Regions from separate parts of the Homo sapiens genome. Here all the other regions are linked to region 3. Evidence: promoter capture Hi-C in 16 types of primary human blood cells and fetal thymus (Javierre and others, 2016). All regions are on one chromosome and are shown on one strand. The core of a region is centred on a gene start or on the middle of the fragment in contact, and the rest is flanking DNA. Distances in the headings are between cores, read along the strand shown.

Region 1 (3,169 bases), core at 72-2,571, 260 kb before region 3:
TCTGTGTGTGTGTGTGTGTGTGTGTGTATATATATATATATATATATATATATATATATATATATGTTTTAGGAGTCTTCTATTTTACTTTGACCTAGTATATGAAAACTTAGCAATCTTTGGAAAACTACAGTTTTCATGTTTGTCTTCTGTAAGCTTTAAACATTTAGTTTGACACTTTAGCCTCGTTCTTCCATCCATCCCGGCGATTAAAGCTTAAGGAACAAACCACTACACTTGGGCAGCATAAGGATGATTAGAAATATGGGCTCTGCTGTCAGTTATACATAGTCACACTAATACTCTGTGACCATCACCAGAAAGTCGGATTTTTCCAATGTTTATAAGGAGTTATGGGTGAGAGCCTTCCTCATAGGGTAAGCAAGAGACTATCTTAATTCATGTAATGCACTCAGAATATCTGATAAGGACATCACTCAATTGCAATAGATAAAATAATAATAGTACTAATCAATGGAATATGAAAGACAAAGTGGTTAGATATGATGATCTCTCAAAGCATTTTCTAGTTAATATTTCATGATTCTATTTTTTGAAAAATAAAGCCAGGACCAAATTAAAGTTTAAATAGGCTAATATTGGGCTTAACAAGATGAATCCTCTTTTTTTCAGGGCTGGTAGAAATACAAATAATTATAATTATCCTAAAAGATGCATCAAAAACTCCACCCACCAGTATATGTTTCCATAAAACTTTTTACAACTGAATGTTTCCTTTCTCATATTTCTGATCAAATTTCTTTCCATTTCTACAGCATAAATTACTTATTCTATATAAATGTGGGAAGGAATATAGCAAATTGAATAGTTCATAGGAGCTCTAAAATTATTTTGATCTATTTTTGACATATTTTATGGAAGCACGCACAAAACCGAAAAATAAGGAAATATAAATGTGGTCACGTCTATAAATTCAATATTTTTGTTCTGTTATATATGCATGGAAAATATATAAGATTTTTAATGGCAGCAAAAACATTGAAATATTAGTGTCAGTTGTCACAAGCGGTTTCATACTATATAATTTTAACCAACATCTTCTCTTATTTTCTAAAATTACAAAGCAAAATATTTCTTAAGGTGGTCTATTTACTATTCTGCAAGTAAAAGACTCCCCTCCCTCAGGCAAGATTGGCCTCTGTCATTAGAGAGGTAAGATGTATGTTTTTGCCCACATGATGATATGATTCAAGGCAAGAAGACAACAATCATCACCTTTACCCAACACTGACAGGGAACATGAGAAGTATCTTTTTTATTTTTCAACTGCGACAAAATCTACAAAACCTGTTAGGATAAATGGCTGAAGTTAATATCATTTATGTCACTGTATTCATTCTGAAAGGAATTACCAACCGGCCAGAGCTTCAGGCCCCGTGCTTTGGGGTGTTTTTAGTTATCTATCTGGTCACAGTGCTGGGCAATCTTGGGTTGATTACTTTAATCAAGATTGATACTCGACTCCACACACCTATGTACTATTTCCTCAGCCACCTGGCCTTTGTTGACCTTTGTTACTCCTCTGCTATTACACCGAAGATGATGGTGAATTTTGTTGTGGAACGCAACACCATTCCTTTCCATGCTTGTGCAACCCAACTGGGTTGTTTTCTCACCTTCATGATCACTGAGTGTTTCCTTCTAGCCTCCATGGCCTACGATTGCTATGTCGCCATCTGTAGTCCCCTGCATTATTCAACACTGATGTCAAGAAGAGTCTGCATTCAACTGGTGGCAGTTCCATATATATACAGCTTCCTGGTTGCCCTCTTCCACACCGTTATCACTTTCCGTCTGACTTACTGTGGCCCAAACTTAATTAACCATTTCTATTGTGATGACCTCCCCTTCTTAGCTCTGTCCTGCTCAGACACACACATGAAGGAAATTCTGATATTTGCCTTTGCTGGCTTTGATATGATCTCTTCCTCTTCCATTGTCCTCACCTCCTACATCTTTATTATTGCCGCTATCCTAAGGATCCGCTCTACTCAGGGGCAACACAAAGCCATTTCCACCTGTGGCTCCCATATGGTGACTGTCACTATTTTCTATGGCACACTGATCTTTATGTACCTACAGCCCAAATCAAATCACTCCTTGGACACAGACAAGATGGCTTCTGTATTTTACACAGTGGTGATCCCCATGTTAAACCCCCTAATCTATAGTCTAAGGAACAAAGAAGTGAAAGATGCCTCAAAGAAAGCCTTGGATAAAGGTTGTGAAAACTTACAGATATTAACATTTTTAAAAATAAGAAAACTTTATTAAACAAGCAGGAAATAAATCAAACTTTTTCTTGTAATTATTTCCCAATGAACTGAAAATGTAGCTGTTACTTTAATGGACCTTGACATTTTCTGCAAGAACCAGGCAGATCATGAAAAATCAGTACGAATTAAAGCATTCAATTCAGGCCATCACAGTCTTGGCAGACCACTGAAACCACGTTCAAATACAAACAGAGACACACTCATATATGCAAACACTCATAGGTGTATTTAAAGCAAAGGCAGCAGCATGTTTTTGTTAGAGTTTGGGATGCTGAAACAAGATTGAGTTTGAACACTATTTCCTTCATATTAGCTCTGCAACCTTGGAAAATTGAGCTAAATTTTGTGTGGCTTTGTCTCCAAGTCTGGGAAATAATAGGACCTAACTCATTGCTCTTTTTTTAAGGATTGTACAGGTTAATATTTATGAAATGCTTAGAAAAATATCCAGTGATAATAAGTGTTTTGGAAGCCTTAGGTATATAAATGTTTGTTATATAAAGTTAGAAATGAATTTATTTGGCCTGGCACAGTGGCTCACACCTGTAGTACCAGCACTTTAGGAGTCAAGGGTGGGAGGATTGCTTAAGCCCAGGAGTTCAAGACCAGCCTGGGCAACATAGCGAGACCTTCTCTCTCTCTCTCTAAAAACAAACAAACAAACAAACCAAAACATAAAACTATTAAAAAATAAATTCATTAAGGTCTTCAAGGCTAATTAGTCAAGTAGTCCTACTTGCTACAATCAAGTAAACATATGATGTGTGTGAAGTTTTCTCTCTAAATTGAAGGTCACATAACTAGCAATATGAAAATTCTAAAAGCAAATTTAGGTTTATCTGAATTTTTTGTTAACACTGTGGGTGTTAAGA
Region 2 (3,132 bases), core at 380-2,879, 300 kb before region 3:
TTGTATGAAATTATATTATTGGGAACTTTTTGTATTTCTATCCCTGGTTTGTTGAAAACTTTGTAAGAATGAGCTTATTATAATGAAGATTTGCAAAACTCCTCATTTCTCATTTTTTGTCCTCTCATTCTCTTTTACAGACAAAAACTATTAACTTTCATAATATTGTTTAAATATATGTATGAATGGAGTTGGGGATATAGGGTCAGTTGGCATGATTGGTCCAGTAATTTATGCCTTCACTGGTTTTCTTCATGAAAAATTCCTGAAGTGTTAATAGAAATGAATTTTGGGTTTTATTTGTCGATTACAAATTCAATCTTCTTGATTATTTTGATAGATGATACACATTTAGGTATTAAATTAATTTTCTCCCAGAAATCATTATCATCTGATCCTGGGATGATAAACTTGGACAAGTAGAGAGTTGCAGTGATTTACTATCTCAGTGGTTTAGGCTGCTCTGGGGTAACCAAAGCTCTTAAAAGTCCATTAAAGATGAACTATGAAAGAGATAACTTCCACATATTGTGGAGGATGAGCAAACTGAATTTCAAATGAAAAGAAATATAATGGTAGAAGAGGCTGTCAAAGATGCAGCAATAGAAGATTGTTAAAGACACAACACTAAAATGATTTTGTTTGCATCCCAATTCTGCTAATTAGTAGACCTCTGACCCAGGGAGACTTTCTTAATCTCTCAGTGTTTAGCTTCCTCATTTGTAAAATGGTCATGCAAATAAAACCTGTTTTACAGGACATTTGCGTAGAAGAGTTTTCCTGAACATTCAATAACAGCTATTCTTATAAGTATTACAAGGCTGGGACTGTTGCCTCTAGAAAAATATTTCTTAGAGAGTTTTAATTATACTGGATTATTGTACTATGTTTAGTGGATCTAGAGATCAGGGCATGTAGAAATCATATGTATAACTATTTCTAAATTTCTGTTAAATGTAACTACTAAGCAAGACAGTTTAAGGAGTTTCAAGGTAAACAAAACAAACTAATATTAGGCTGGTACAAAAGTAATTGCATTTTTGCCATTGAAAGTAACGGCAAAACCCACAATAACTTTTGCAGCAACCTAAATGCTAAAGCGCTAATGATTTTGTGTAAAATAAGAAAAGTACATCACACTGTGACTGAAACAAAATGTAGTGTTAGTTTATGTTTCTTAGATGCCTTGATGCTTTATTTCATATATTTTATACTTAATACAGTAGTAACACTAACCCAAGTCAAATTCTGTTAGTAACAGGAAACCAGTAGAGATCAGAAATTTTTACATAGGAAAATCTCTGACCACAGCATCTGCAGCTCTTTACCTAGTTTGACATTTATAATGAGCCAAAAAAGTGAAACTACAATCATGGACATCTATAGCAAAGGAAAGTTGGATCAGAACTAAAACTGCAATGTCTATTATGTTATATATTCAGTTCATTTTATGTATAGTATATTTAAACCCTGTATTGTACATTTTTGCAAAGTGTACATTGTTTTTAAATTATTTGAATTAAAATAAGGACAAACGCAACTCAGTTTCAAGAATAAAACAAATTCATTTACTTTCCTTTTGAAACAATTTCTCCATAGGCAACACAGACTTGGCCTATACTAAGGCAATGCCTAATTTCACGGATGTGACAGAATTTACTCTCCTGGGGCTGACCTGTCGTCAGGAGCTACAGGTTCTCTTTTTTGTGGTGTTCCTAGCGGTTTACATGATCACTCTGTTGGGAAATATTGGTATGATCATTTTGATTAGCATCAGTCCTCAGCTTCAGAGTCCCATGTACTTTTTCCTGAGTCATCTGTCTTTTGCGGACGTGTGCTTCTCCTCCAACGTTACCCCCAAAATGCTGGAAAACTTATTATCAGAGACAAAAACCATTTCCTATGTGGGATGCTTGGTGCAGTGCTACTTTTTCATTGCCGTTGTCCACGTGGAGGTCTATATCCTGGCTGTGATGGCCTTTGACAGGTACATGGCCGGCTGCAACCCTCTGCTTTATGGCAGTAAAATGTCTAGGACTGTGTGTGTTCGGCTCATCTCTGTGCCTTATGTCTATGGATTCTCTGTCAGCCTAATATGCACACTATGGACTTATGGCTTATACTTCTGTGGAAACTTTGAAATCAATCACTTCTATTGTGCAGATCCCCCTCTCATCCAGATTGCCTGTGGGAGAGTGCACATCAAAGAAATCACAATGATTGTTATTGCTGGAATTAACTTCACATATTCCCTCTCGGTGGTCCTCATCTCCTACACTCTCATTGTAGTAGCTGTGCTACGCATGCGCTCTGCCGATGGCAGGAGGAAGGCGTTCTCCACCTGTGGGTCCCACTTGACGGCTGTTTCTATGTTTTATGGGACCCCCATCTTCATGTATCTCAGGAGACCCACTGAGGAATCCGTAGAGCAGGGCAAAATGGTGGCTGTGTTTTACACCACAGTAATTCCTATGTTGAATCCCATGATCTACAGTCTGAGAAATAAGGATGTAAAAGAAGCAGTCAACAAAGCAATCACCAAGACATATGTGAGGCAGTAAAACTGTAGTGGATATTGTTGTCCCTATTATAAATAGGGTCCTGTTATAAATGGTCACATGTAAAAGTCCTAGCTCAGAAAACAGTATCAAAAGGTAACTCTTTCACACACTAAGAGGTCTGATGTAACAGGGTGATGTTTTACCCCTTGTATGGACTCTAATTACTAAGCATATTTTCTCCTATATGTGCGCCAATATTATGAAAGATGACACAATGTTCATTCACAATATGCTTAAAATTGGGCTAAGTTTAGTCACTGGAGGAACTCACAAATGAGTGTACATACATATATGTTAAGTTGGAAGTATGCTTGTTAGTGTTGGATGTTATTTTGCAGAGTACTTTATACATATACATATTCCTCAAACTAGATTTCATGTGAAATATACAAATTCTCAGAAAAAAGTAAATACTTCATTTCTTTTTCATGGCCATAGAATACTGATGAACAGTTTACCTAAAAAGTGTTTAAAATTTTGAAAATGCAATTATATTTAGAATTTTAAACTAGTGTCTTAATATAATCCTGTTTGTCATCATTTCACATAATTTGATAGTTAATAATGTTTT
Region 3 (2,870 bases), core at 25-2,524:
GGGACGTTCCACTTTCTTTTATTGACTTCCCGTGTATTTTTTAAATAAAGGGAGAAGTACTTTTCATTGAAATAGTTTTAATTACAGTATTATATCTCCATGAATACTCCACTGTACAATTCCAGAAAAAAAGTCATTCACTAATATATGATGTCCTAAATTCTCAAATTATTTAAATGATTTATAGAACCTACCATCTTCACAGTGTTTTATTACAGAAAATAAAGTACATATAATTAAATAGTCATCACTGAATATTGATTTAAATCATGTTTTTGCAGAAGTGGATCCAGATTATGTGTCTTGAAGCTTAGAAGAATTTGACTTTTTAGATAAAATTACACATACAAGTTGAAAGATAAATGGGAATATTTATTTAGAATAGAAAATTAGCTTTAAATTGTAATTAGTAAACAAACCCATGGCCACAAACTATATAAAATTTATTAATATAGTATGTTAATTAATCAAATGCCAAATGCATCTCAGCATACAGGTGGCAAGAGTATCCTTAGAAGACATTCTTAAGTCAGAATAGGTAGTATTATTCAGTGATAAATATCATAGTGTCTGAATGATATAAACATATCCATTGAACATCAAATAAACTATTATTAACTCAATCCTTCTTTAGCTAGATCCCACAATGCTTGCAGAAATGTCAAGTCACTATGATATTAGTTGAAGTGTGATATACTAGAAGTTGGAATGAAAACAGAAAGCAGCCTTAATTGATCATGATTATTATATCTTACATTTGAAATTTTACAAAGATATATCATTTTTGCGTGCATTCGTAAGTCCCCACACAAGACCCTGGAAGTGCAAATGAGGGACCCCAAATCTTAACCTTCATTATCTTATTGCCATCTCTACCTCTGTCTTTGAGAATATCAAAATTACAGAAAAGTTTTACAACAAAAGTGGAAGTGAACAAAAGAAAATCATGATACCATTGTGCAGATGAAAAGAGCATAATCTTTTTGTAATAATACCTATATGGCTGTGTTATTAACCGATATACTTCAAATATTGATGAAACTATTTAATCTATGTTGTTTCAGTGCATGTATTTTACATGAATTCCTCTTTTAGGAAAGTAGAAAATTTTGCTTTATATTTCATTTCTGAATCAAATGTAGAAATAATGTTTCTATTATCTATTGTGAATAACAATCTATTCTGTCTACAAATATTATAATTTGTTTAAATAGCACTACATGGAACAGCTAATAACCCAACTGTTTCTTCCTAGAAGAGATAACTGGACTAAATGGGCCAACACAATCTAACAGTGCTAACTGAATTCATTCTGATGGAACTCACAAGGCGGCCTGAGCTGCAGATTCCCCTTTTTGGAGTCTTCCTCGTCATCTACCTAATCACAGTGGTGGGCAACCTAACTATGATCATTTTGACCAAACTGGACTCCCACTTACATACACCTATGTACTTTTCTATCAGACATTTGGCTTTTGTTGATCTTGGTAATTCTACTGTCATTTGTCCCAAGGTGCTGGCAAATTTTGTTGTGGATCGAAATACTATTTCCTATTATGCATGTGCTGCACAGCTGGCATTCTTCCTTATGTTCATTATCAGTGAATTTTTCATCCTGTCAGCCATGGCCTATGACCGCTATGTGGCCATTTGTAACCCTCTGCTCTATTATGTTATTATGTCTCAGCGACTGTGTCATGTACTGGTGGGCATTCAATATCTCTACAGCACATTTCAGGCTCTGATGTTCACTATTAAGATTTTTACATTGACCTTCTGTGGCTCTAATGTCATCAGTCATTTTTACTGTGATGATGTTCCTTTGCTACCTATGCTTTGCTCAAATGCACAGGAAATAGAATTGTTGAGCATACTATTTTCTGTATTTAATTTGATCTCCTCCTTTCTGATAGTCTTAGTGTCCTACATGTTGATTTTGTTAGCTATATGTCAAATGCATTCTGCAGAGGGCAGGAAAAAGGCTTTCTCCACATGTGGTTCCCATTTGACAGTGGTGGTTGTGTTCTATGGGTCTCTACTCTTCATGTACATGCAGCCCAATTCCACTCACTTCTTTGATACTGATAAAATGGCTTCTGTGTTTTACACTTTAGTAATCCCCATGCTTAACCCTTTGATTTACAGCTTAAGAAACGAAGAGGTGAAAAATGCCTTCTATAAGCTCTTTGAGAATTGATGTCAACTTTGTGTTTAATAATCAATTTGTAATATTGTTATAATAAATATATAATATAGATTAATGTCACTTGATAATTTTTCATGTGTATATAAATTTTCCAATTTTCAAATTTTTTTAATTGTTTTTTATTTCAATAATTTTTGGGAAGTAGGAGGTTTCTGGTTATGTGAATAAGTTCATTGGGGTAATTTCTGAGGTTTTGGTGCACTCATCACCTGAGCAGTGTACACTGTACTCAATGTGTAGCCTTTTATCCCTCGCCCACACTGCACACTTTTCCCTGTGTCCCCAAAATACATTATGTCATTCTTACCTATTTGTATCCTCATAGTTTAGCTCCCACTTATAAGTGAGAACATATGATATTTGGTTTTCCATTCCTGAGTTACTTCACTTAGAATAAAGGTCTCCAGCTCCATCCAGGTTGCTGTGAATGCCATTATTTTGTTCCTTTTTATAAGTGAGTAGTATTCCATCATATATATATATACATATATATATATATACACACACACACACATATATATAGATAAAGAAAACGTGATATCTATATATATCATTTGATATATATATGGTATATATAAAGAAAATGTGATATGTATATCATATTCTGGTTATATGAGTCCACTTTTTGTCATATATATATCACATTTTCTTTATATATATCAGA

Evidence for each region. The method cuts DNA at HindIII sites, captures the fragments that hold promoters and counts their contacts. A CHiCAGO score of 5 or more calls a contact.
Region 1: the fragment with the promoter of OR8U3 here is called in contact with the fragment with the promoter of OR8K5 in region 3 in 10 of 17 cell types (neutrophils, M2 macrophages, non-activated CD4 T cells and 7 more); the score reaches 15.8 in neutrophils.
Region 2: a contact is called between the fragment with the promoter of OR5M9 here and the fragment with the promoter of OR8K5 in region 3, in 5 of 17 cell types (neutrophils, naive B cells, naive CD4 T cells and 2 more). The highest score is 8.4, in neutrophils.

The regions. Positions count from the first base shown.
Region 1 is chr11:56,416,384-56,419,552 of GRCh38, reverse strand. OR8U3 (olfactory receptor family 8 subfamily U member 3) reads left to right here and starts at 1,321. Exons shown (of 1, transcript NM_001004744.1): 1 at 1,321-2,295. The coding sequence starts at 1,321. The coding sequence ends at 2,295. The HindIII fragment of the contact is 8,358 bases long and covers 218-3,169 here.
Region 2 is chr11:56,461,898-56,465,029 of GRCh38, reverse strand. It overlaps OR5M9 (olfactory receptor family 5 subfamily M member 9), which reads left to right and starts at 1,629. Exons shown (of 1, transcript NM_001004743.1): 1 at 1,629-2,561. The coding sequence starts at 1,629. The coding sequence ends at 2,561. The HindIII fragment of the contact is 10,097 bases long and covers 1-3,132 here.
Region 3 is chr11:56,158,721-56,161,590 of GRCh38, reverse strand. OR8K5 (olfactory receptor family 8 subfamily K member 5) reads left to right here and starts at 1,274. Exons shown (of 1, transcript NM_001004058.2): 1 at 1,274-2,197. The coding sequence starts at 1,274. The coding sequence ends at 2,197. The HindIII fragment of the contact is 6,274 bases long and covers 312-2,870 here.